Regions from separate parts of the Homo sapiens genome. Here all the other regions are linked to region 4. Evidence: promoter capture Hi-C in 16 types of primary human blood cells and fetal thymus (Javierre and others, 2016). All regions are on one chromosome and are shown on one strand. Each heading gives the region's core, a stretch centred on a gene start or on the middle of the fragment in contact. The rest is flanking DNA. Distances are from core to core; before and after follow the strand shown. Region 1 overlaps SUPT7L (SPT7 like, STAGA complex subunit gamma). Region 2 overlaps TMEM214 (transmembrane protein 214). Region 3 overlaps AGBL5 (AGBL carboxypeptidase 5). Region 4 holds the start of EIF2B4 (eukaryotic translation initiation factor 2B subunit delta). Region 5 has its middle 3.2 kb from the start of EMILIN1. Region 6 overlaps MAPRE3 (microtubule associated protein RP/EB family member 3). Region 7 overlaps KHK (ketohexokinase).

Region 1 (3,528 bases), core at 134-2,633, 290 kb before region 4:
AACACAGGATAGGATGAAAATGCTTTGTAAGCTATATATGTTTTAAATTGCTTTTATAAAATTGAGTTGACTTCCCTGTTTTGAAATGGTCCCTTGTAACTTTATAAGAATCTAAGAATCTTAAACTCCTGGGAACTGTGAAGAATCTCTTTATTGGAACTGTGAATTTCTAAAAGTTTGTATTAATATATTGCCCAGCATGTATGAAAACTAGGTTATGGTAAAATAATTAGAGCATCATTGAGCAGTGTCTGGGCTATACTGTTAAACTTAATCCTAAAAGTGATCAAAATTGAACAGTTGCTAGAAGGAAACTTTCTTTTCACTAGATATCCTTTTGGATTGTGTATTATAGACATGTATTGCCTATTCAAACTATGTCTTTGGAGGAGCTCAAAGATATGACCATGGGTTGCTAAGACATGCCCAGATAGCAGCAGGATGAAACTGAGCTATGTAACTTGGATGGAATTTCCCTGGAAAGCTAGGCCAGTGGCTTGACTGGAATTGTAAAACTCCTGGGGAAGACAGGAGGGGTCACCCCTTTGCAAGAACATTAATAACACCACCGTATCTCCACTTTCAGTGGGAAAGGGGAACCTGTGACTGAACTCAGCTGGCACTCCTGTCGGCAGCTCCTCTACCAGGCAGTGGCCACAATCCTGGCCCACGCGGGCTTTGACTGTGCTAATGAGAGTGTCCTGGAGACCCTAACTGATGTGGCACATGAGTATTGCCTTAAGTTTACCAAGTTGCTGCGTTTTGCTGTGGACCGGGAGGCCCGGCTGGGACAGACTCCTTTTCCTGATGTGATGGAGCAGGTATTCCATGAAGTGGGTATTGGCAGTGTGCTCTCCCTCCAGAAGTTCTGGCAGCACCGCATCAAGGACTATCACAGTTACATGCTACAGGTGAGGCGACCCTGTTGAAAAGTGGGCACAGATGTCTGTGCAATCTCGGAGTGTTCAGCAGGATCCCACAACACTTGGTCTAGAGTGCAGAGCACAGAGTCTTGGAACAGAGTGAACTTAACATACTTTTATGATGGCCCTAGCGATGTTCCTGGCCAAATACCATGGGTCTCCTTTAGTCAGTGAATGGCCACATTCACTGATACTTCCTCTGGAAGAAACTATCCACAAGTATATGGAATCTGAGAGAATGCAGTTAGTCTGATTTTATTCAACAAGTATTTATTGAGTGCCTGTTGAGAGTCGAGCATTGTGGGATTCAGCAGTTACTAAGTTACCTGAGTTTACATTGTTTTTGAAGGGAGACAAACACAAGTCAATAAATAACAATCAAAACAATTTCAGGAGCTGGGCATGATGGCACATGCCTGTAATCCCAGCTACTTGGGAAGCTGAGGTGGGAGGATTGCTTGAGGCCAGGAGTTCAAGACCAGCCTGGACAATATAGTGAGACCCCATCTCTACAGAAAATTAAAAAATAAAAATTAGCTGGACATGGTAGCTCATGCCTGTGGTCTCAGCTACTTGGGAGTGTGAGGTGGGAAGGTCACTTGAGACCAGGAAGTTAAGGCTGCTGTGAGCCATGATTGTGCCATTGCACTCCAACCTGGGTGACAGAGCAAGACCCTGTCTGAAAAAAAAAAAAAGAGAACACAGACCTACTGACAATCCTCCTGCCTCAGCCTCTCAAGCAGCTAATATAATGGTTTGACTGGAATTGTAATATATATATCTAATATAGCTGCTTGGGAGGCTGAGGTGGGAGGATTGTTTGAGGCCAGAAGTTTAAGACCAGCCTGGGCAACATAGCAAGACCCTGTCTCTAAGCACATACACAAAAAAATACAATTTTGGATAATGTTAAGTGCTATGAAAAAAACAGAGTAAAATGATATTGCCTGGAGGATGGGTTGGTGGGGGGTGATGATTTTGCTTGGAACCAGAAATATCTAATCTCTTCAGCCCTTGTGCTCTTAAGTCATTTGTTCACTGTTTCAGTTTCTGCAGGTCTAAAATATGATTAGGAATTTTTAACACCCAAGAAAAAAGTCTTTGCTAAGTGATCCAGATTTCCCACACCATTGATTATTCACCTAGGATACATATGTCAACTTTTTTTTCCCTTTTTTTAGACAGGGTTGCCTGGGCTGGAGTGCAGTGGCACAATCACAGCTCACTACAAGCGATCCTTCCACCTCAGCCTTCCAAGTAGCTGAGACCACAGATGTGAACCACCATGCCCAGCTTTTTTTTTTTTTTGGTAGAGATGGGGTCTCACTAGATACTGCCCAAGCTGGTCTCAGACTCCGAGGCTCAAGTTGTCCTCCCACCTTGGCCTCCCAAAGTACTGGGATGACAGGTGTGAATGACCGTGCCCAGCCTACTGTTAATTTTTATAGCCAAAAAAATGTAATCTTTTGTCCCAGTTCTAACACATTTTTTTACCTTTATGTAACTTTTAATTAATGACATACACATTCTCTGCCAAACCAATTTTCTTTACATATCTCTATCACTCATAAATGCAAACTCAGCACCTTAAACAAATCCCTCCCATTGGCAGTGAATGTTTTAAAATTCTGTTATTCATGTTCTGTTGGCTTTTCCATGGGACGTCACAAGCTGACTATCCAACTTGCTTTTAACATTTCCTTGGAAAATTGACTCTTGCTTGCCAACAGATTAGTAAGCAACTCTCTGAAGAATATGAAAGGATTGTCAATCCTGAGAAGGCCACAGAGGACGCTAAACCTGTGAAGATCAAGGAGGAACCTGTGAGCGACATCACTTTTCCTGTCAGTGAGGAGCTGGAGGCTGACCTTGCTTCTGGAGACCAGTCACTGCCTATGGGAGTGCTTGGGGCTCAGAGCGAACGCTTCCCATCTAACCTGGAGGTTGAAGCTTCACCACAGGCTTCAAGTAAGACAAATAAACTTACTCACTTTGATTCTGGGAGATCTGCCAATTTCAGTACTTTTTGCTTTTTGGAATCAAGCTCAAGAGGTAGAAGAACAAAAGCAGCAGTGGGCAGAATGGAAAGTCCTAAAACGAATACAGTTTCACCTATCTAGAGATCCCAGCATTCTTCTCTTTCTAATTAGTGAAGAGAGGATTAGCACAGCTTTACAGGCATTCTTTAAAATAATCCCTAGTTAAGATGTAGATGCAATGTGTTGTCACGTTGATTACCAAGGCTGATTCAGCTGATCCAGCTGGTTGGGAAGATATCCCCTTCCTCCTTTAGTATTTTATTTTTAGTATTCTGTATTGGTCCTTCCTGATGCTTGTACTTCATTGAATAAGACAGCTGCCAGATAGATGGGGGAGTGTTAATTGCTCAAGGATGTTCTCAGAGTTTGGCTTCCCTGCTAGAGTATTCTAACAAACTGAAGATGAAAGACATTGAAATAGGGCTTCCGGCTGGGCGCAGTGGCTCACGCCTGTAATCTCAGCACTTTGGGAGGCTGAGGCGGGCGAATCACGAGGTCAGGAGATCGAGAACATCCTGGCTAACACAGTGAAATCCTGTCTCTACTAAAAATACAAAAAATATGCT
Region 2 (3,324 bases), core at 534-3,033, 330 kb after region 4:
GGAGAAACAGTGTCAAGACTCCAGAAAGCTCTCTGAGAGGCTGTAAAGCAGGAGGCTGGGGCTCCTGAGCTAGAGCTTTGAGCTCAAAGATCACTATCTGCAAGAGACGGGCATCAGAAACCACCCAGACCTGAATGTGCTGTCTCTTGGGATCCATCTTCTGAGGGTGAAGCTCGAGTGAGCGGGGCAGGCAGCTGTCAACAGGGAGCTAAGGAAAAGCCTCAGAATGGGCTCTGTGAAGGCAAGGCCTTTGTCAGCAGATAGGGACCGCTACAGCTGACCCCTGGGGAAGGAGAAAAAGCCTCCCACCATATCCTCACCTCTTTCTTCATCTCAGGGGGACAGCTAGGGGTGGCTCTGGACAGGAAAGAAGGGAAGTAGGTATGCAGGGTGGAATCCGGCTTTGCTCCAAATGCCAGCACTTTCAGTCGGGGGTAGAGCTGACACAGCTGCTCCTGCAGGCTGGGTGGGGTGGGGAGGAAAGACAGGCATAAGCTATAAGTGGAGCTGTATGATATGAACCTTTTGCTTGCTTCAGAGCCCATGCCTGCCTGTGGGGAATAGCCACTGAGGACCTTGCAATGGCTCTGAATCTTTTTACTCAGAGACTCCTTGGAAATCTGTTGAAAGCCATGGACCCTATCCCTAAGAAAATGCCCATATGCCAATCACACTCAAGGGTCCATATAATTTCAAGGGGTCACTGTTCCCTTGAAACCTACTCTTGAACTTCCAGGTTGCAAATCTCAGATCTAGGATGGCTGGGGAAGGAGAGACGGGAATATGTAGTGTGGTTCTGGTGCTGTGGTCCCTTCTCAGCAGGTGTGCCCCAGAGCAGTCCTACCTGGGTGTCAGGGAGTTGTTCGGCATATAGGCAAAGTCCAGAAGTGGGAAGAAGTCCTTGGGGCCAATCATGCCGAAGCCCTTGGTAAGGTTGGGATGCATCCTGTGGGGATGAAGAAACAGGCTCGCTGGACACCACCACCCATGCCAGCTGTTTTGGCCATGACCCCAGCTAAGCCAACATCTAGGAAAAAGGGTATAAACTCTACCCCATCTGCCAGCCCTTAATAGCTCCCTCTTCTTCCTTCCTCACCATCACATTCTAAGGTGGTGGGAGAAGCTGGTCCTGATTTTCCTCATATCCATGGAGACCAAGATCATAGCCTCCCATTTTGCTATAACAGCCACTTGGGACACCCTGAGCCTTCCCCTTGCTGCCCTCCCATTACTCACAGGAGCAGCCGATCCAGGTATGTGATGGCAAAGGGAGACAGAGACTTGATGCCCAGCACAGGCAGCATGATCCCCAGCCACACTGCAGGGGTAAAAGTCACGAGGGAGGCCTCAGGCTTGCACCTACTGGGGGCATCAAAGAGGAGTTTTCCAGCTCCGAGACCCTCCCTCTTTCTTCCCTATTTCCCTGTTACCTTTCAGTCCCTCGGTGAGGTTGGCAAAACCTGCTTGACCCAGGGCCCACATGATGGTGAGACACTTTGCTGGTCGGCTCTGGTGGGACCTCAGCAGTTCCAGGAACTGAGGAGACCGGTGGGGAAGGCAGATTGGGATAGGACAAAACACCAGGAGCACCCCCCAAAGCCAGGAGGGAAGGGAGATGTCAACTGGAAGAGGGAGGACAGGCCGAGCAAGAGTGGAGCACTATGGCCACGTGGTGCAGGTTCTGTTTGTGGGCTTCGCCCATACTCTGCCATTTACTGGATGACTGAGCCTAGGAAAGTTACTGAACTCCTCTGTGGCTCAATCTTTTCATCTATAAAAATGGGAAATAATAGCAGTACCTTGCTCCTATGTTTCCAGAGCACACACACAGGATAGGTGCTAATAGTGTTACCCATTATTACTAGGCTTACAGGTCTTCCACTATCCCAAACCTGAGTCCAACAACATAGATTCTGCCCAGCCTCCCCAGTCCTAGCTTCCTAGCATCCCCACCATCACTGAGAGCTCACCTTGCCTAGGTTTGCCGTGGCAATCTTGGGCTTGTCTTGCAGGATGGCCTGGATACAGATGCGGTAACCATGTAGTGACTCCCCTGGAGAGATACACATTCTCACACCTACTCACATTATTTGGCATCCCAAACCTGAAATCTCCCATTTGTCAGCGGTGAGCCCAGGCCCCAGGTCCACTGACTCCTAACTTCCTCCACACTTTCCAAAAAGTGTTAAGGTTAGCACATTTCTCTGCTGGAAACAGAACCACTGAGTGGTACTGGAAGCAGGAAAAAAAGGAGGAGGCTCCCAAGATGGTCATCCCTCCCGTGCCCCTTTCACCTGGTGTCTTATCCAGCTCTTGCAACATGGTGAACAGACAGTGGTCAAAAAAGAGCTCCAGAGACCCTGCTGCCTTCGCCAGCAGCCCTCGGATGATCCCACGTAGCTCCCGGCTCACCAGGCTGTAGGGATAATCTAAGGCCCATAGGCCTCAATGTGAGTGCTAGGACCAGACACCCATCAGCTCTGAGAACTGTGGTGCTCTCCCTGGGAATGGTGAGTGGAGGCAAAGGCCCCTGCACTGAGGCTGGGATCCTTCCTCTGAGGAGGCCCAGAGGGAGGATCACAGAATGAGGCCCAGAAACATTCACAGTCACGATGATTTGAGACCAGCCCAAATCACCCATGGAAATCAGGACAGTGTGGGGCACTGGGATCTGTTATACCACCCTTTTTGAATTTATTTGAACTTGTCTGAGCTTGAGGAAGCTGGAAGGACTTACCATGAGTATGCTGGCTCAGCGTGGGTTCACTTAGAGGAGCTTGTAGCTTGTAGTTGAGATAGCTGGCCAGGTCCTTCAACCATATGGATGGGTTTCCAGAGAACACACTCTGGCTCTTGTCCAGTTCCTTCTGCAGGTCTGCCACATCCAGCTGCCAGGGACAATCCCCCAACCCCCCACCATGGCGAGTTGTGAGTGAGGGAGTAAAGAAATGGGGTAGGGGTGGGAAAATGGTTGAACTAGGTGGCAGTAGGAAGAAGGGATTCCATTTTTAAGCATAAGAACATGGAATGCTGCAATTCTGCTGTACCTACATCTTTAAGAATGGAACAGGACAGCTGAAAATGCTGATCTCAGGCCCTATCCTCTCAGGCCCTCCACATGTTCAAGAGGAAAACAGAGGGCCAGGCGCGGTGGCTCACGCCTGTAATCCCAGCACTTTGGGAGGCCAAGGTGGGCGGATCACCTGAGGTCAGGAGTTCAAGACCAGCCTGGCCAACGTAGTGAAACCCCATCTCTACTAAAAATACAAAAATTAGCCAGGCGTGGTGGCAGACGCCTGTAATCCCAGCTGCTTGGGAGGCTGA
Region 3 (3,477 bases), core at 917-3,416, 310 kb after region 4:
AGTGATCTGTCTGCCTCAGCCTCCCATAGTGCTGGGATTATAAGCATGAGCCACTGCACCCAGCCCGGTATCACTTCCTTAATGAGCTCTGAAGCCAGGAAAAATTTCAGCCCATAAAGACCACAGATAAGATTCCCCATCATTCTACAGTACTGCAGTTTGGATTCTGAGGACATTCCCTTAACTGCCCCCATGAAGACAGACTGACATTGTCCGTGACGTGGAGGCTCCATGTCCTGTTTGGCACTGCTTCAGCTAGTGTTTCATCCTTGGAAACTTCCCTGGCTCCTAGCATGCACTGAAGCCCAGATACCCAGACTTCCCCCTCTGGCCACACACAATACCGCTCTGGAATCATGCCGCAGGGAACACCAAGGTCGTAGGAGAGGCCACAGGTTCTGCTACAAACTAATTTTATTGATTCACCCCTTGGTCCTGGGCCAACAGTATATCTTCAAGCTCTTACTTCCCCCAGCAATGCCCCAGACAACCGAACACATGTTGCAGGGGCTCCCAGACTGGCTTACCTCTGACGGGGCCCAGCACCCGGTGGGTGACCTTTTGGGTACTAGAGCCCAGGCCTGGCAGCCCTGCAGGCCGACTGCCATGAAAAGGAAAGCTGGGGGAATTCTTCATCTGTGGAGAATTTTGTTGGCTGCTGCTGCTACCACCGGCACTTGTGCCGGTGCTAAAACTTCGTGCCCGACTCAAGGTGTTTTCGGAGCAGGAGACAGGCAACCCACTGCAAAGAAGCAGATGCCAGTTAACCCGGGCCAGGAAGGTTGTGTCCTAAGGCTTTCCCTAGGATCTGCTGCTCAGTAAAGCTTCACCTCTGGGGTAAAAAGGCACAGGGACCCATCCCAAGGAAGAAGTGAGGAATTCATGTCCGTGGATGAAGTATCTAACCTGGGGAATACCAGCTAATCTCAAAATGTCTTAAGGGCCATCCCTGAGCAGCTTTATCTCCCAATGAATTTCACCCCTACTGCCTTGGCACTGACCCTTGAACTCCCTTCAGTCAGTCATTCACAACCCTTGGAAGCTGAGGCCTGCCCCACTGCAATTATATTTGATTTTGTACAGGGCTCTGCAGCAGTGAATCCCAAGCCTGATACTCAGATCTCTTAGGTGTATGTAGCTCAGAATAAAAGGGAAGAGGATCCCATTCTAAAAGAATAAACTAATCTGACTAATTTTAATTTACCCTGAAGATATTTGCCATTTGGCACTTTGAGGAGGATGGAAGGAATATAAATCCCTTGGAACTCCTAGCTCTAGAGCCCTGTCCCACTGTCCTACCCTTTCTCCCTCCTATTTTGCTGGCCTTACTTGTGACTTTTGGGTGGAGTTCGAAGGCCCCTCTTCTTGTTGACACCCACATTCAGAGTGCTGCTTAGGCCTCGGCTGTTGCGTACATGTTTCAGCATCCAGGCCCGTAGATTAGTAAGGCTGCTGTGCTCTGACAGTACAATTCGGGGCCACGGATTACATTCCGCCATGTCCAGGGCTGCAATGGCCATAGCTCGTCCCACCTGTGGGGTAGTCCAGTTTGGCTCAGCATGCTGGTCCTCCCATCCAGGCTGCTACCTTGGGGTGGGTACACAGCACAGTGGAAGGGAAGGAGGGGCCAGACCTATAATTTGCTCATTGGATGCCCTAACCTTTGTGCCCAGGCTGTTTATTGCAAACGGATTTGGAGCTGTTCCCTAAACTACCGCCAATTTGGGGGCCCTCTTCCATTATGAGGGGCAAAGTGTGTCCTTTCTTTCTGGCTGGTGCCATGAAGGAATTCTCCTAGCAGGAAAGGGGTTTGAATCCCTTCTGTAACCTACAGATCTACTTTTTTTTTTTTTTGAGACGGCATCTTGATCTATTGCCCAGGCTGTAGTACAGTGGCGTGTGATCTCGGCTGACTGCAACCTCTGCCTCCCGGGTTCAAGTGATTCTCCTGCCTCAGCCTCCTGAGCAGCTGGGACTATAGGCATGTGCCACTATGCCCAGTTAATTTTTGTATTTTTAGTAGAGATGGGGTTTCACCATATTGGCCAGGCTGGTCTTGAACTCCTGACCTCAGGTGATCCGCCTGCCTTGGCCTCCCAAAGTGCTGGGATTATAGGCATGAGCCACCGCACCTGGCCAGCTCTTTCTATTAGGATAATGGGAATCATCAAGACCACTACAGTCAGGGTGCTTTTGAGCCCAGAAACTAATAAATCCAATAGAATGAGAAAGACAAGCCCAGAGGCAAAGAATCTGACTCAGAGGTGCTAGGGGATTCTCTGTGATGTGGGGTCAGATATAGTGCCTGTTCATCCTTTCAATACTATTACAGTTGTAGTTATGCTCCTGTTAACTGAGGAAAATAATCATAGTGGTGAGACGGCCATAGTGATGAATATCTCTTCAAAGGACCTTAGAGTCAGGCACTAAGAGTGAAGGCCTTTCCAGACTGTAAGGTTTCTCCCTTTTCCCACTTACACCATGTATTCATACCTGCTCAAATAGTTCCACAGTGTATCTGGAGGGGAAAGCCGGCGGGGGAGGGGGGCTGGCACGCCCATTGTCATGGCAGGCAGCAGGGATGCTGTTTACTGAGCGTCCAGTGTTGTAGTTGCATTCAAGTGTGTAGCTAAGACATAAAGACCTTTATCAGTGTCCCGCCTGAACAGATACCAGGACAGAACCATAGAGGACAACTTAGGTGGTCAAAGGAGGCAATCACTTGGAAAAAAGTGAACACAAATGAAAGTGCTAATAATCCATAGCAACTAGCAGCTGACCTTGGTACTGTACCATATACCCAGAGAGTCCCCCCAAGGTAGAGTCCTAGACTAAAGACAATAATGCTAATTGTGAGGTTCTCTTTTAAGAAGACTAAGGTGGTTCCCTCCCTCTCAAACACCCTGAACTGGGTGTTGTTTTTTGTTTTTTTTTTGAGACGGAGTTTCGCTCTTGTTGCCCAGGCTGGAGTGCAATGGCACGATCTCGGCTCGCCACAACCTCTGCCTCCCAGGTTCAAGCGATTCTCCTGCCTCAGCCTCCTCAGTAGCTGGGATTACAAGCATGCACCACCACACCCAGCTACGGTGTTTTCTTTAGGGAAGCTATTTCATCAACTATATCTCAGCTTCCACCCAACCTGTGGATTATCCCTGAGGCTTTGTAGATTGCAACACGGCCGCTTCCCTCTTTAGACTGGCCATCTCTACGGTCTCGGGCATACATATTCTTCTCTGAGAAATTGCAGCCCTGGAAGTCGAAGTGGGCTGAATTCAAGGAGATGAGCTTTGGATATAGCATGTTTTCCACCTGTTTGGGGAAGAAAAGTCAACTCAGAAGGAGAGACAGAAGGGACAAGGTGCAAGGAAGAGATAGCAAGTATGTGACCATGTGACTTAATACACAGCAGATACCATCACAACCATTAACAGTAATCAGTGCTGCCTGAATTCTCAGTTTGACATTACTTCTAGGTGT
Region 4 (3,342 bases), core at 241-2,740:
TTTAAGATCTGGTAAGGAAGGAGGAGAAACATTGCATCACAGATACATAACGATAATTGGCACAGCTAAACACACTGAAATGAGCCGAAGAACACAAAAGGAAATCGGTGAATCGTTTGTATAAGCAGGGAAAAGAATTTCAAGTTGCCGCTCAGATGACAGAAGGAATGTGCTTTGACAGCCTGGGTGGAGGTAGTGGGGGGAGGGGTTGGTTTGTCCATGCAGGGGTAAAGGCTACTAGAGCAGTAAGACTGGACAGAAAACCAGAATATAAGAACAGGAAGGAGCAGTTGTTGCGCGGACATTAAGCTTCTTAGGGAGTTCCCGGAAATGTCAGACAAGATAAACCAGGGCCCTACCCTGTGGCAGTGATTAAAGGGGAACTACAGCCTACGGGAACAAGAAGAGCGGGTAAAGGGAGACACTGATGTCCACGTGTAGGGAAGGGCTTGAAGCTGTCTCAAGGCAGGGGTGCTAGTCCCACCTGCTCGTGCAGCCCCAGGAGCTGGCTGTAGCGCACCCGACAGTGCAGGACTCCATTCACGTGAATGTTATAGGCCTGAGGACACAAAAGTAGTCAAGCATTTTAGGGTTGCGGTCTGCGCAACCCCCCTGAGAACCCTGGCCGGAAGTTGCCTGGCAACTCGCCGGAGTAACGCGCTAATCTCCCGAGGGATAGTTCGCTTGTTTTCGCCAGGGCCAAGTCCCAAAGCTGAAGAGCCAGTCCGGGGGAAATTCGGACGCTTGTGTTGCAGTCTCACTGCCCAAGAGGCCAGTGACGCCCACCAGGGCAGCTGCGGCCTAGCTCGGGGAAGCGACCCGGCCTAAGGGCCTACAGGAGCTCGGGCGACCACTGCACGAATCACACACATGAGATAAGCTCCCAGAGAGGCCGTCGGGAGTCGGCGGCCCAGGACCAGGCCCGAAGGGTGGCGGTCAGGCCTCAGAGGCCGCTCCGAGATGGCTCGGGCCCGTTATCCCCGCCCCTGCCCGGCCCGGCTCGGCTCCGGCCGCTCCTCACCACGTAGGCGGAGCCGCCGCTGTCCCCGCTGCGGGACTCGGTTTCGGGAATGGAAAAGTGCATGTTCCCTACGGCACGGCACGGCCGGGCTCCGGACTGTGAGGGCCGCAGCGGCTCTGCACGCTCCCCCTCCGCTGCTCAGCGAGTCCCCGCAGCCTCACTCGCCATTTTGGGAGCCCTGCGATCCGATGTGGGAAGGCGGTGGGACGTCGGTTCTGGGACGCAATCGCCTGGGCATGCTGGGAACTGTAGTCTAAAGGGCAAGAGCCACCTGTCCGGATAGGGAGCCCAAAGTGGAGTTGGCCCTCATTGCAACCCGTAGTGCGGGGCGGGGCCTCGGGGCCCGTCGGAAATTGTAGTCCGATTGGGGCTGCGCGCTTCGCTTCTGCGGCTCAGCCTCCAGCCCAGGTGGCGCTGTGGACCCTGCAGCCGCGGAGCGAGGCAGCGGGGCGGCTCCGTGACCACGGCGGGCGGAGCCTAGGACTGAGGGCGATGGCTGCTGTGGCCGTGGCTGTTCGCGAGGGTGAGTGAAGAGCCGGGCCTGCCTACTGGTACGCGGAGCCGACGAGCTCCGGACAGCTAGTGCCGGGCCTTGAGCGCCTTTGGGCCCCGCCGCTCCGTTCCAGCGCCACGCTGGGCTCCGGTCTACACAGTCTCGAGCGCAGTCCCGCGCCGCGCACCGGCTGGTTGCTGTGAGGAGGGTCGGTGACCCCTCCATTCCTTTGATCCGCCGCGCAGTGCGTCCCCACGCGGATCCCTGGCTCGCCTCGCGCCTGCCGGCGGATCCGTGGTCATGCCAACCCAGCAGCCGGCTGCGCCGAGTACTCGTGCCCCCAAACCCTCCCGGAGTCTCTCTGGCTCACTTTGTGCCCTGTTTTCTGATGCAGACTCGGGATCCGGGATGAAGGCGGAGCTTCCCCCTGGGCCTGGGGTAAGTGAGGCTTCCCTCCCAAGCCGCCTGCCAAGCGCTACGCAGGAGGCTGTGCCAGCTTTATTCCGCCCCAGCTCCCATCCCGTGTCGGTTTATTTCTCAGTAAAGCCAGGAGATTTTACAGAGGTCTTGCAACCCTAGGGATATATGATTCTGTCCCTGGAGGAGAAACGTCAGCCTCTGTGGATGTAAGCTTGCAACAGGTAGCTTGTGGAAGTTAGGAAGAACTAGGGATTTAACCATGTGGAAATCTTGTAAGCATCCAATAGTATTTGTTCCCCTTTGGAATTGTTGGGGAAGAGCAGTATCCTATGTCTGTGTCTCAGGCAGTGGGGAGGGAAATGACCAAAGAAGAAAAGCTGCAGCTTCGGAAGGAAAAGAAACAGCAGAAGAAGAAACGGAAGGAAGAAAAGGGGGCAGAACCAGAGACTGGCTCTGCTGTATCTGCAGCCCAATGTCAAGGTGAGTGAGGGGTCTCTTTTAAAGGGCTGGGGTGTGGAGCTGGTAGAGGGATGTGGTGGGAGAGATAAGGGAGAGACAGGACAAAGTTGATTTGAGCAAGTGTGTAAAGCAAAGAGGTTTACAAGGAGAGAAGCTAGTTTTAGCTGGGGCACGGATATCACCTGCCTGCAGCTTGGGCATTTTTTTTTTTAATGCTTTTAGTAGGCCCAACCAGAGAACTGCCAGAATCGGGCATTCAGTTGGGCACTCCTCGGGAGAAAGTTCCAGCTGGTCGGAGTAAGGCCGAACTTCGGGCTGAGCGTCGAGCCAAGCAGGAGGCCGAGCGGGCCCTGAAACAGGCAAGAAAAGGGGAACAAGGAGGACCACCTCCTAAGGCCAGCCCCAGCACAGCTGGAGAAACCCCCTCAGGTATCTTCCCTTCATTTTAAGACCTCCCTTACTCCTAATTATAACGCCAGCTCAGGCTGCCCAATAGTAAAACAGCTCTCCCCTCTCATTCTTGGGACCCAGAGTTCTGAATTGTTCCTGCAACCCCATTATCCTATCCCTATTTCCTTTTCTACCCTATTCTCCCGTTTTCTCCACCTCATCCTGTTTTTCTTGATGCCCCTTATACCCTAAGAGCAAATTACACATTTCAAGACCTACAGTGTCCTGAAAACATGATGATTATCTTTCAGGAGTGAAGCGTCTCCCTGAGTACCCTCAGGTTGATGACCTACTTCTGAGAAGGCTTGTTAAAAAACCAGAGCGTCAACAGGTAGGAAGTGGGTTTGGTGCCTGGCTAGAAAGAGCCTAGGGAAATGGACTGGAGGGAGGAAAGGTGCTGGGTGCAAAGTGAGAAGGATAGGTGCTTGGGTCAGAGTAGTCTTACTGTTCACTTCCTTTCCAGCTTTATCCCATCCTTTTTAAACTCTGGGCCATTGGT
Region 5 (3,550 bases), core at 246-2,745, 290 kb after region 4:
GAGCAACTGAGGTTGTTGGAGAATGGGACACAAGCCCCCAAACAGAGAACCGTCACAAGCCAGGACAGAAAAAGTGCCAAGGGGCAGGACAGAGGGATGATGTGTGTTCCAGCTAGGAGGAGGGAAAAGACAGCTGGCTGCTGGAGACAGTCAGAGGAGAGGCTGGAAAAGACAAAAGCTGAACAGCATTGGGGTGGGGGCGGGGGTGGGGGGCAGGAGTCAAGAACAGAGACAAGGCAAGGAGAGAGATTTCAGGCTCAGGAAGAGCGGTCTGCCTCAGTCTCCTCAGCTGTAACACAGGAATAACAGGACTCTCCATCCCACTTTGTGAGGATTAAGTAAGTCAGTGCATGTAAAGCATTCTAGAACAGTGTCTGGCAAATGGTAAATGCTCAATCAATGTTAGCTCTTTTTTTTGTGTCAGGAAAAAATGGGACCGAAATTCAGAGAGGTAGATTGTGGACAAATTAGGGAGAGGCTCAAATGACTGGTTATGAGGTTGTATTGCAAGTTTTTGAGTAGAAGCATATACACATACACGAAAGAAGGTATTGTGGGTGAGAGCGCTGAATACGGTGTCAGAACACAGGCAATGTAGCCCCAGCTCCTCCTGTCACTATGACCCAGCAAATCCCATGACACCACTGGGAGTCTATGTGTCATCTAAAGTCCCTTCCAAATTCTACATTGCAAAGTGATGCAGACTTGGGCTCTGGTGGTGACAGTGACCATGGATAGGCAGGGAACTTTGTGACTGCCTGAGTAATGAGGCTTGGTGACTGCCTGAGTAATGAGGGACCAGATGAAGGGAGACACGAGGGAAGATTCCAGCATTTGAGCCAGGATGGGGAAGTCGGGAAGAGAGCAGGTTTGGAGGAAAGAAAAGTGATCGTAGTTTGAAGATACTGAATTTAAGATGAGAGTAACACATCCTAGTGGAAACCAGTGTCTAGGATTGTTAGCAATGGTGGGCCACTGATTCTTCCAACATGTGCAGGGCAATAGGTGGAAGCCATGAGAATGAATGCCATCAAATCATCAATGTAACTCTGAACCATCTTGCCTCTGATGTCCTATGACCCAGAATGTGACCTTGATGGCTAAGAGAAATGTTTGTGAAAAGACAGGGTCAGGCGGGGTGTGGTGCCTCACGCCTGTAATCCTAGCACTTTGGGTGGCTGAGGTGGGAAGAGCACTTGAGGTCAGGAGTTTGAGACCAGCCCGGCCAAATGGTGAAACCCCATCTCTACTAAAAATACAAAAATTAGGCCAGGCACGATGGCTCATGCCTGTAATCCCAGCACTTTGGGAGGCCGTGGTGGGTGGATCCCATAAGGTCAAGAGTTCGAGACCATCCTGGCCAACATGGCGAAAGCCTGTCTCTACTAAAAATACAAGAATTAGCCAGTGTGGTGGTGTGTGCCTGTAATCCCAGCTACTCAGGAGGCTGAGGCACGAAAATCACTTGAGCCCAGGAGGCGGAGGCTGCAGTGAGCCAAGATCACGCCACTGCACTCTAGCCTGTGCAACAGAGTGAGACTGATTCAGAAAAAAAAAAGGGGGGTGGTGGTTGGTGAAAGTAAATGCTGGAACAAACAGAAATGGAAATTTGTAGTTGCCCCTTAGAGCCCTGGGGATCAGCACACAGGGAGATTTGAAGGAAATGTTCACAGGAGATCCCGATTTCAAAGAAGTTTTCGGTGGAAGGTTGCAGCTTTGTCCCTGGTCTCTAGGCTCTGGCTCTGGCCCTGGCAGGAAGCCAACCCACTTCCCCTCCAGATTGCCCCAGCTGCTGCTATGGGTTTTCTCTCTCTGCTCTTCTCCCTCTCTTCACCCTTAGGAAGCCTCTGGCAACCTGAAAAGTCACCCCAGCCATCTTGTCACTGCCCAATTGTTACCCATTCCCTCTCCTACCCTCTGAAATTCAAAAATCTATTGTATAATTTAAGTGTATCCAGTGAAAAATGTTGGCTTTGAAATATAGTTGCAGTAGGTTGCATTTCATTTGCCTTTATGTAATTAGGAGACGAGACCTAGGAGCTGTCATGAATGTTTGTGAAATCACAAACATATCAGTGGCTCTGAGTTCACCAGGGAGGATGCTTCCCCTTGCTGGCTTGAGTGGGCAAGCAGGGTGCAATGGAGCCTAAAGTTAGAGTGCAGTGGTAGTGGTGATGGTGGCAGTGACATGCTGGTGGTGGTACTGGCAGGCAGCCATAAATTTCCAAAGCAATTGGTAAGAGTTCCTGACCCCCCAGAAAGCTAAGTTGCTGGTGGCACTAGGACATGATCTATTTTACAACCTCTCCAAGGTGGGTAATTTCCAAGCATCTAGTGCCAATTGGCCCTACATGGCAATGAACTCATTCATTCAGCTTCACTGACTGAGCAAGAGTTCATGACCAGGGTCAGGACAGCCGTGGGCACCAGCAATAAGGAGCATTTTATGTCTAGCCTCTCTGTCAGAGGACTGAATATTGGGAGGGAAAAAGGGGGAATAATATGATTTGGGGCCTGGCACAGTGGCTCACGCCTGTAATCCCAGCACTTTTGGAGGCCGAGGCAGGCGGATCACTTGAGGTCAGGAGTTGGAGACCAGCCTGGCCAGCATGGTGAAATCCTGTTTCTACTAAAAATACAAAAATTACCCGGGTGTGGTGGCACACTCCTGTAATCCCAGCTACCCAGGAGGCTGAGGCAGGAGAATCACTTGAACCTGAGAGGCAGAGGTTACAATGAGCTGAGATCGCATCACTGCACTCCAGACTGGGTGATAGAGTGAGACTCATCTCAAAAAAAAAAAAAAAAAAGTGATTTGGGCCTTGGGTCATGCCAATCCACATGGGACTTCAAGTTTGTGGGGAGTCTTGAGCAAAAGCCCACTTTTCTCCAAAGAGATGCACTTTACTTTTCCTTTCAGCTCTTCCTCCAGGTTTAATACTTTAGTAGCCGACCTCCCTGAACCCAGTTCCCCTTCTCCCAGGTCTTGTTGCTTTCTCACTCCTGAGCCTAATCCTGGCCTCATGTCCTTTCCTTGAAAATGTCACACTAATCACAGAGATTGAGCTCCACAAGTGCCCCCCAGTCATTTCCCTCCACATCCTCCCAAATCCCCCCAGGATGAGGCTGTGCCTGTCTCACTTCCCACGTAGTTTTTTTATCCAAGCTTGGTTCGAGATTTGTCAGTTCTTAGTTAAGTCTAGTTCAGTCTCATAGACTGTTTTTTGTTTCAGTTCTTCCAGGCACTGGGCCAAATGACCCATCCAAAGCTGATAAAGACCCACTGACCTAGGCACAGGAAGTTCTGTGAGGTGAATGAATTTCTGGGTGGTCCTAAAATAAATCCTTTCCTTCTTGTGCCTAACCCTAGGACAACCTACTGAGTCCACAGTTTGACCTGGAACATGGAGTGGAGGTAGGAGGAAGAGGTGACACTGCTCTTTCACCAGTTTCTAGAAACTTGGTGAAATTTTACCTTCTGGGCCTCAGTTTCCTTCCTTTTTTTTTTTTTTTTTTTTTTCCCTGAGACAGGGTCTCTCTCTGTTGCCCA
Region 6 (3,539 bases), core at 492-2,991, 400 kb after region 4:
ATGAAGGTCATATAGTCAGATGCCATTTTCATCAATAGCTGAAAATTAGCTTATTAGAATAATTATGATTATTTTAGCTGGTCAACAGATGGAGGGGACTATTCTCAAGAGGGGAGTGAAAAGACTAGGAAGAGTTGATGGGGTAGGTGGTCAGTTAAGTACCCTGGGCTGACCGGGAAGCAGCCACTTTGGAGGGTCCTGCCCTCACTTAAGAGCTTGATTTGGTGCAAACTGCCTGGGCCTGCTTGAAGCTGTCAAACCCTATTTGCCCCAGGCATGGGAGGCTCCAAGTAAAGGCAGCTGCTTCTTTTGTACCAAAATGTATTTACTGAACAACAATCACTACCCATTCTATTTGGTCTTCATTAAATGACTAAAGCATACATGCTTCTTATAACAAGTCAAATACAAAAACATATAAAGTAAAAGTTCCCCTTTGAGTCTCCTTTTCCCTTCCCCACACCCAAATCCCACCTCCCAGAGGTAAACATTATTGCGTTTCTTTTCAATCTTTAGATGTCTATACATGGGTATTTCCTTCCCTACTGAAATTTATCTAGGAATTTAAATTCACTTTTGCTCTTGCACCTGAACAGCTTGCCCTGGTTCTTTAATTACTCAGTAGTTTCTGCCTTGAGCCAGTCTGTAATTCTCTCCATCCAAAATGACCTCCCTTTACCTCTGCTCACTGGCAAGGTTTCCCTCTTAAGATGAATAGCTCCTTTCCCTTGCCCCCTGGATCTCACGGATGCAGAAGCTGATTTTAGCAAAGTCACCGATGAAATCTATGCCTCTACCAGTTGAGGAAGTCAATAAAGACCACATGTGTGTCCCTCACAAGCAAGAGCTCAGCAGCTTTTCTATTTCAAATGAAGACCACTCCCCAGACTGGCCTCCCTGCTGGAGAACTAGCCACCCCCACCACACACCCAAGCACACCACATCTGTGCCTCCTAAAGTCAAATGCTCCTGTCCTGCCAGTCTTTCAGGTTGGCTGAATACATGGAGCAAAGATACATTTCATATACTCCGGTTTTGGCAGTTGAAATAATAATGCAAGTGCCGGGTCTTCCCGGTACAAACCTTTTCTCTGTTCGTGTCAAATACCGAGAGGGGTGCTGAGAGATGGGGGCTACAAAACTGAGAGTCCAAGATGGACCTAAATCACGAAACAATTTTGAAACCATTATTTGCTATTTTATGCTTTAGTCAATATAAAATAATCATTGCTATTTCTTATGAAGCAAGCACTCTACATACTCCCTTTCATTTAATCTTCACAACAACCCTGTAAAACAGATAGTTATTATTCCAGGGTTATAAATGAGGAAACTGGCATTCAGAGGTAACATAACTCACCCAAGGCCACACAGCCAGGAGATGGCTGGATGGGGATCTGAACTCAAGTCTGCCTGCTTCCAGAGGTCAGGCTGCCTCCGCGCTTCCCAAGGAGAGGGTTTAGAAGTCCTTATGGCTCCCAGAAACTACAAAAGGTTCCATTCTGAGAGGTGGAAGATAAGCCCGCAGCTGCCCAATGTGCACGCTCCTCCTCTCAGCCCCATCTGCCTCTCCACCTTGCTTTCTGGAATGCGGCAGTCTCACAGATAAGAAGTAGAAAAGACTTCAAATACCCAACTTCACATTTGCTTTTCTGTTAGTTGATGCAAATTAAAAAAAGAAAGACCTTCCTGAAGTCAGAATGTGTGATAAAAAATATTATTTTTAAAGTGGCAAGAATAAATATTTAGTTAGACAGTTTGACACAAAATTTTGCCTGGCTGTGCAGCATCTCAGATGACAAAACAAGCCCTTGCCTACAGGGCTAATTACGGACTACTAAATTATTTTTATTAAAACCCTTTGGAACATTATGAGGGATGAGGCAATGTGGTGTTGAAGAATAACTCTAGTCTGGAAATCTGGAGATCTAATCCTGACTCAGCCACTAATAACCACCAACATTCATCTGCCTAGTGTACACAGTTTACAAAGTGTTTTTACATACGTTCTGCATGGGTTGGGTGACCTTAGGTAAGTCATTTAACTCTTGGTGTCTTGTGTCAACTTTAGAAATGAGGGCATTAAACTATACCATCTGGGGTCACCTCCAGTGCTAACATCCTAAGCGAGGGAGACATGTGCCTTGGGACCTTTACAAATGTATCTGTAAGCAAATCAGGGCAGATGCATTCTGTTTTAAAAAACTATATTTTCTGGCCAGGCGCGGTGGCTCACGCCTGTAGTCCCAGCACTTTGGGAGGCCGAGGCGGGTGGATCATGAGGTCAGGAGATGGAGACCATCCTGGCTAACAAGGTGAAACCCCGTCTCTACTAAAAATACAAAAAATTAGCCGGGCGCGGTGGCGGGCGCCTGTAGTCCCAGCTACTCGGGAGGCTGAGGCAGGAGAATGGCGTGAACCCCGGGAAGCGGAGCTTGCAGTGAGCCGAGATTGCGCCACTGCAGTCCGCAGTCCGGCCTGGGCGACAGAGCGAGACTCCGTCTCAAAAAAAAAAAAAAAAAAACTATATTTTCTGTTCGGCTTCTGACAAATGTTACTCGGCTAAATTCAGGAATAGCTCATAAGACGTTTGCTGCCAGTTAGTTGGCTCAGTTTCTGGAGAGTACCACATTAAGACCCTGGGTTGGATTCTCATATGGGAACTTTCCTCCGTTCAATAGCCTCCTACTATGCCTAACTCCAGCCAGTCATCTTACAAATACAACCCCACAATGTGTGCTGGCGTGCAGGAAGGACTAGAAGAAACTCAGCTTCACAATGCATGCACTCTCAGGACGGTAGGTCAGAAACGGCATCATCACACAGGAATACTATCAATAGCATTCTTTCTCAGTTCCAAGATTCACAAATCCCTCCCTCAAGTCTTGCCATTTCCCGAGGGTTTTAATGTTTCTAAAATGAGGATGCACCTTGGAATCAGCATATATATTTTGATCTGGTAGCATTAGATTATTTTACCTAAAAGCTATTGGTAAATTGCTGGTGTGTCTTAGAATCAAGAATACAGTCCTACAAAACCTCAATACCATTACATAGATTTAGGTCTAACTTGGTTCAAATCATGTCCCTCTCCTTGATCTTAACAATTACATTCAGCAACAGCTGGATAGGCAATGTATAAGACAAGTATTAGTCCTGTTTCCTCATAGTAGCAGTTTAAAAGGCATTCCATCATTATCTCATAAAACACTGGTATGGATTTCAAAGGCAAATTAATCCATATAAAAACTACTCTGATCCTCTGAAAATGTACTATCCCATAGCAAACTGGAAAGGAACATTTTACTTACACCCTCCTGATCTATCTAGCCTTGACACATTTTCTTCCTCCTTAATTCACAACCCTCCACCCCAGTAATATCGCTGATTCCCAAAATACACTCAGCCCAGGAGGAGCAGCTCTCCAGTACAGCTGTCTGCTCCTGCCCTGCTCGGGTATTTTGGTGAGCTATGTGACACAGGACCACACAGAAGGAATGCCACTCTCAGGCCCCACAGTTCCCACTGCACCACAGGCAG
Region 7 (3,518 bases), core at 26-2,525, 280 kb after region 4:
GAGTGAGGGAACTGATTGAGCCAACTGATTGGTGGGTTGTAGCAGGGCGAGGCCCGGGGGCCTTACGTGTCATGGAGCACAATGGTACGGTTGCCATTGGAGTTGTTGATGATGCAGCAGGAGCTGGGGGTGTCCCCCTTGCTCTGCCAGGCCACCTGAGACACGTCCACGCCCCGCCGCCTGAAGTCGGCCACCAGGAAGCTTAGGGTGGAGGCCGGGCCAGGAAAAGGGCAAGGAGACACAGATTAGAGCCTGGAAGTGGTCTGGACCTCCAAAAGGAGTGGGGAGAGGGTGCTGGAGCACACGAGCCTCTAAGAGAAGAAGAGTCCTGTTCTGGGAGTTTTGGTGGCGGCGGCAGCAGCTGGCAAGGCACAGACAGTTGTACAAACCTGTCATAGTATAGGATGGTGCGGCTACCACTGGCCTCGTTGATGATGACCGTGGCGATGGGGACGGAGCCTGTGGTCTGAAAGACTGTGTAGCGTAGGTCCACAGAATAGCGGCGGAGGTCATCCAGGACAAAACTGCTAGGGCGGAGTAACCCGAAGGGGGTGCAGTTCGACAAGGGTTTTGGGGACTGGAGGGTAGCTGGCAGGGCCACTAGGGACCCTGAAAGGCAGGGGTGCAAGCAAAGGGGGCTGGGAGAGAACTGGGAATCACAGTCTTGCCACAGGCAGTGCAACAGGGCAGGAGATGCAGGAGTGCAGAGCCTGGAGCTCAGAGAGAGAAACACTAAGGGCCATCCTTTTAGGTCTTGGCTGAAGCATGCTCCGATCCTGACTCTGTTTTTCAGTCCAACTCATGCTGGAAAGGATTTGCTCCTGTTCATAAAGCTAGACAGGACCCTAGAACCTGTACACTGTTTGAACCAAGCATGTGGGGGCACCGTGGCTTGTTTCCTGCAATGCCCAAACAGGATTAATAATTAATCTCCAAGGCAATACTTTGCCCCCAGCTGTCCTCCACAAGCTCATCCAGGGTGCTGTCCTCTCTCAGTCCCTCCCAGTCCTAATGCTGTGATTCCTCTCACTCTCTGCCTGCCTCCAGGAGGCCCAGCCTGGAAGTGGTGCTGCCTTGGTGAGCCAGCTCACTGCTTTGTCCTCCTGCAGCCAGGTGAACCCTCCTGGGCAATCAGCTGGCTCCCCGTGCCTGATGCCACTCAGTATGGGCCTGGTCCAGAACTCTCTCCTGGAATGCCCTCCATGCAGAGTGAGCCCAGGGGCAAGGACAAGGAGGTCAGCCCCAGCCCTTCCAGCCCTCTATGGACAGGCATTGTTCTGTGCTCAAGAACTGGCAATTATGCCCAGCAGTCCAGCCACCATCCTGGCTTTTCTCACCTGGCCAGAGCCCGCTTTCAGCAACACCAAAGCTGGATAATACAGATTTGCATAAAGATACCAAGTCAGGGCATCATCCCTTGACTTACAACTCCTTTAAATAGTAACTTTCCCAAAGCATTGGAAATATGGTTTGGTTTGCCAAATAACTTTCGCACCCCAGTGCCTGGGACATGGTAGGTGCTCTCTAAATGTTTGTCGAGCACATGGGGAGAATTCTGAATAAACCACCCATTGGCCTGATTGCTATGTAAAGGAGAGTCGACCATCCTAAGCCAGAGCCACAGTCCTGCCTCTAGCTCAGAGGAAAGGAGCTATTAAAGAGGTTTAATGAGTCACCAGCCCTTGGTTCTGAGCCGTCCTGTCCCATCTCACAGGGCAGATTCTCTCCCTCTATTCTCTTCCTGCCAGTTCATCAAGGCAGGGAGTTTGGCTGTAGCTCAGGTGGTTGGACTCTGCCAGCAGCCCCCTTCAAACCAGGGTTCAAAGGGCTGCCCTTCACAGGCCAGCAACCTGGCAGCCTGCCCCCGTGCCCACAGTGTGCAAAGTGTGGGCCTCACCTCCCGATAAGTGCTTGCTGAGTCGGCAGCGCCAGGGGTCAAAGGGCTCTGAGGTCCCTGCAGCAGCCAACATGGAGGGCGTGCATGAGCCATTTAGGGCTATAGCCCTGACAGCCGGGGAACTGGGAGGTGTGGGTTCTGAGCCCAGCTTTAGCATGTGGCTTCAGGGTGTCCTTGAACAGGGTACTCTCACTGCTTCAGTGAACAACAGGGACATGAGCACCAGCCCTGCCTCTCAACTGGGACAGAAACTGTGGGCCTGGACCTGGGGGAGGATGGGTACCACGTGTCCCTAACTGCCTTCTGCCTCAAGCATGGCCAGGATAAGGGACTTAAGATAAGGCAAAGGCACATCCACCGCAGAGTCTGCAGGAAGCAAGGAAGGAGAAAGGAAGAGGCTGAAGCAGGCTCCAGAAGTGTCCAGGAAACAAGCTGTGGCAAGGAAAGCTTCACAGGGGCAGCATCAGCCCCCGAACCGCAGAGAGGCCACGCCAAGGCAGGGCTGGGCGTCTGGTGCTCCGCCATGCCCCCTCCCCGCGTTTCTGCTGGACACAACCCATTTCTAATCCCCCATCCACCCAGGGTGGATACATCCTTCTTCTCCCACAATGATGCAGGCAGGCCTTCCCCAGTGGGCTCTCCCTCCTGGACTTACTCAGCAACATGGCCAGGAGCCATTGAGCCCATGAAGGCACAGGGGGCTCCGAGCAGGGAGAGAACGGTGCAGGAGTTGGACGCGTTGCCTCCGCGCTGCCATCTCTGGGACAAACACCTGCAAAGCACAGGGAGGGTCCCTGCAGCCCCAGCAGGCTGATCCCAAGCACAGTCTCCTGTATAGGGGCCTACAGAATGTAACAGCTGGGGACTCCTCTCAGAAAGCATCTAGGCCGACGTCTCACTTTGTACCCGGGGCAGCCGAGGCCGGCCAAGGGAAGGAGCTTGGCTGAGAGCGGTGTCTACCTCCCCAGCCCAGGCTAAATTCAAGCTGACAGCAGTTCCTTTCAATATTTCCATCTGTTCCTAGGGCAACAGGAAACCACTCACTTGGGTCCATCACTATTCGAGAGACCCACTAACTCCAGGTCATCTCCTCCTCACCTTTCACCCCAGTCAGAGCTGCTCCAGACGCTGCACCTTTGGCCTCCTCCTTGAGAGCTGGAGCAACTCCAAGGACCTCGGGGACTAAGTGCCTCTTCCCAAAGGTATCACATTTACACCTACCCCTGTGTTAGGAGTGTCTACTTCAATAGAAACTGCAGAGCTATAAAATCAAACGAGTAAGACAGGACAGCAAACCTGGACGTTGGTCGTTTAAGAAGTGGCAGCAGGGAGCACTTCTCCATCTTTACTAAAAACCAACCAAAAGGAAACTAACAAGACACACGTGAAGGGCTTCATTGTCATCAGCAGCAAAAATGATAACTTCCACATAGAGGGTCAACGCACTGATCCCCTCACAGTGTTACTGGAGCCCAAATGAGAAATCATTAATGAATGTTATTACCTTTGAGGTAAGAATGGTGGTGTTATTTCTATTGTGCCAGTTCCAATAATAATAATAATTGTGGCAGTTTACAATAAAAGGAACAGTACCAAAGAACCACGAATTAAGAGAAAAAAC

Evidence for each region. Contacts are between HindIII fragments. The CHiCAGO score rates a contact against its expected background, and 5 or more counts as called.
Region 1: a fragment that was not itself captured here is called in contact with the fragment with the promoter of EIF2B4 in region 4 in 4 of 17 cell types (endothelial precursors, erythroblasts, megakaryocytes and 1 more); the score reaches 12.7 in endothelial precursors.
Region 2: a fragment that was not itself captured here is called in contact with the fragment with the promoter of EIF2B4 in region 4 in 6 of 17 cell types (naive B cells, total B cells, total CD4 T cells and 3 more); the score reaches 8.5 in naive B cells.
Region 3: a fragment that was not itself captured here is called in contact with the fragment with the promoter of EIF2B4 in region 4 in 4 of 17 cell types (naive B cells, total B cells, naive CD4 T cells and 1 more); the score reaches 7.9 in naive B cells.
Region 5: a fragment that was not itself captured here is called in contact with the fragment with the promoter of EIF2B4 in region 4 in 12 of 17 cell types (total B cells, non-activated CD4 T cells, total CD8 T cells and 9 more); the score reaches 11.1 in total B cells.
Region 6: a fragment that was not itself captured here is called in contact with the fragment with the promoter of EIF2B4 in region 4 in 1 of 17 cell types (total B cells); the score reaches 6.3 in total B cells.
Region 7: a fragment that was not itself captured here is called in contact with the fragment with the promoter of EIF2B4 in region 4 in 8 of 17 cell types (megakaryocytes, naive CD4 T cells, endothelial precursors and 5 more); the score reaches 8.0 in megakaryocytes.

What each region holds. Positions count from the first base shown.
Region 1 is chr2:27,654,728-27,658,255 of GRCh38, reverse strand. SUPT7L (SPT7 like, STAGA complex subunit gamma) reads left to right here. Exons shown (of 6, transcript NM_014860.3): 4 at 587-911; 5 at 2,654-2,891. Among named protein-coding and RNA genes, the nearest start is that of SUPT7L, 7.1 kb to the left of the region's middle. The HindIII fragment of the contact is 2,985 bases long and covers 1-2,875 here.
Region 2 is chr2:27,034,699-27,038,022 of GRCh38, reverse strand. TMEM214 (transmembrane protein 214) reads right to left here. Exons shown (of 17, transcript NM_017727.5): 3 at 2,738-2,888; 4 at 2,295-2,429; 5 at 1,971-2,053; 6 at 1,431-1,536; 7 at 1,237-1,318; 8 at 845-946; 9 at 321-462. Among named protein-coding and RNA genes, the nearest start is that of TMEM214, 3.4 kb to the right of the region's middle. The HindIII fragment of the contact is 4,998 bases long and covers 1-3,324 here.
Region 3 is chr2:27,056,455-27,059,931 of GRCh38, reverse strand. It overlaps AGBL5 (AGBL carboxypeptidase 5), which reads right to left. Exons shown (of 15, transcript NM_021831.6): 8 at 3,140-3,309; 9 at 2,494-2,629; 10 at 1,330-1,532; 11 at 528-742. Among named protein-coding and RNA genes, the nearest start is that of AGBL5, 6.5 kb to the right of the region's middle. The HindIII fragment of the contact is 2,679 bases long and covers 827-3,477 here.
Region 4 is chr2:27,368,486-27,371,827 of GRCh38, reverse strand. It overlaps EIF2B4 (eukaryotic translation initiation factor 2B subunit delta), which reads left to right and starts at 1,490. Exons shown (of 13, transcript NM_001034116.2): 1 at 1,490-1,544; 2 at 1,909-1,952; 3 at 2,279-2,414; 4 at 2,616-2,822; 5 at 3,095-3,174. The coding sequence starts at 1,514. It overlaps SNX17 (sorting nexin 17), which reads right to left and starts at 1,212. Exons shown (of 15, transcript NM_014748.4): 1 at 1,022-1,212; 2 at 485-559. The coding sequence starts at 1,084. RefSeq lists enhancers at 830-919, 1,140-1,199, 321-1,282, 1,220-1,309, 1,530-1,809 and 1 more. The HindIII fragment of the contact is 1,836 bases long and covers 312-2,147 here.
Region 5 is chr2:27,073,625-27,077,174 of GRCh38, reverse strand. No RefSeq gene overlaps it. Among named protein-coding and RNA genes, the nearest start is that of EMILIN1, 3.2 kb to the left of the region's middle. The HindIII fragment of the contact is 3,346 bases long and covers 1-3,168 here.
Region 6 is chr2:26,972,531-26,976,069 of GRCh38, reverse strand. The region is part of intron 1 of MAPRE3 (microtubule associated protein RP/EB family member 3); the gene reads right to left. Among named protein-coding and RNA genes, the nearest start is that of MAPRE3, 3.7 kb to the right of the region's middle. The HindIII fragment of the contact is 5,007 bases long and covers 1-3,539 here.
Region 7 is chr2:27,091,483-27,095,000 of GRCh38, reverse strand. It overlaps KHK (ketohexokinase), which reads right to left. Exons shown (of 8, transcript NM_006488.3): 2 at 2,553-2,669; 3 at 67-201. Among named protein-coding and RNA genes, the nearest start is that of KHK, 6.5 kb to the right of the region's middle. RefSeq lists enhancers at 1,221-1,806, 1,807-2,392. The HindIII fragment of the contact is 2,143 bases long and covers 204-2,346 here.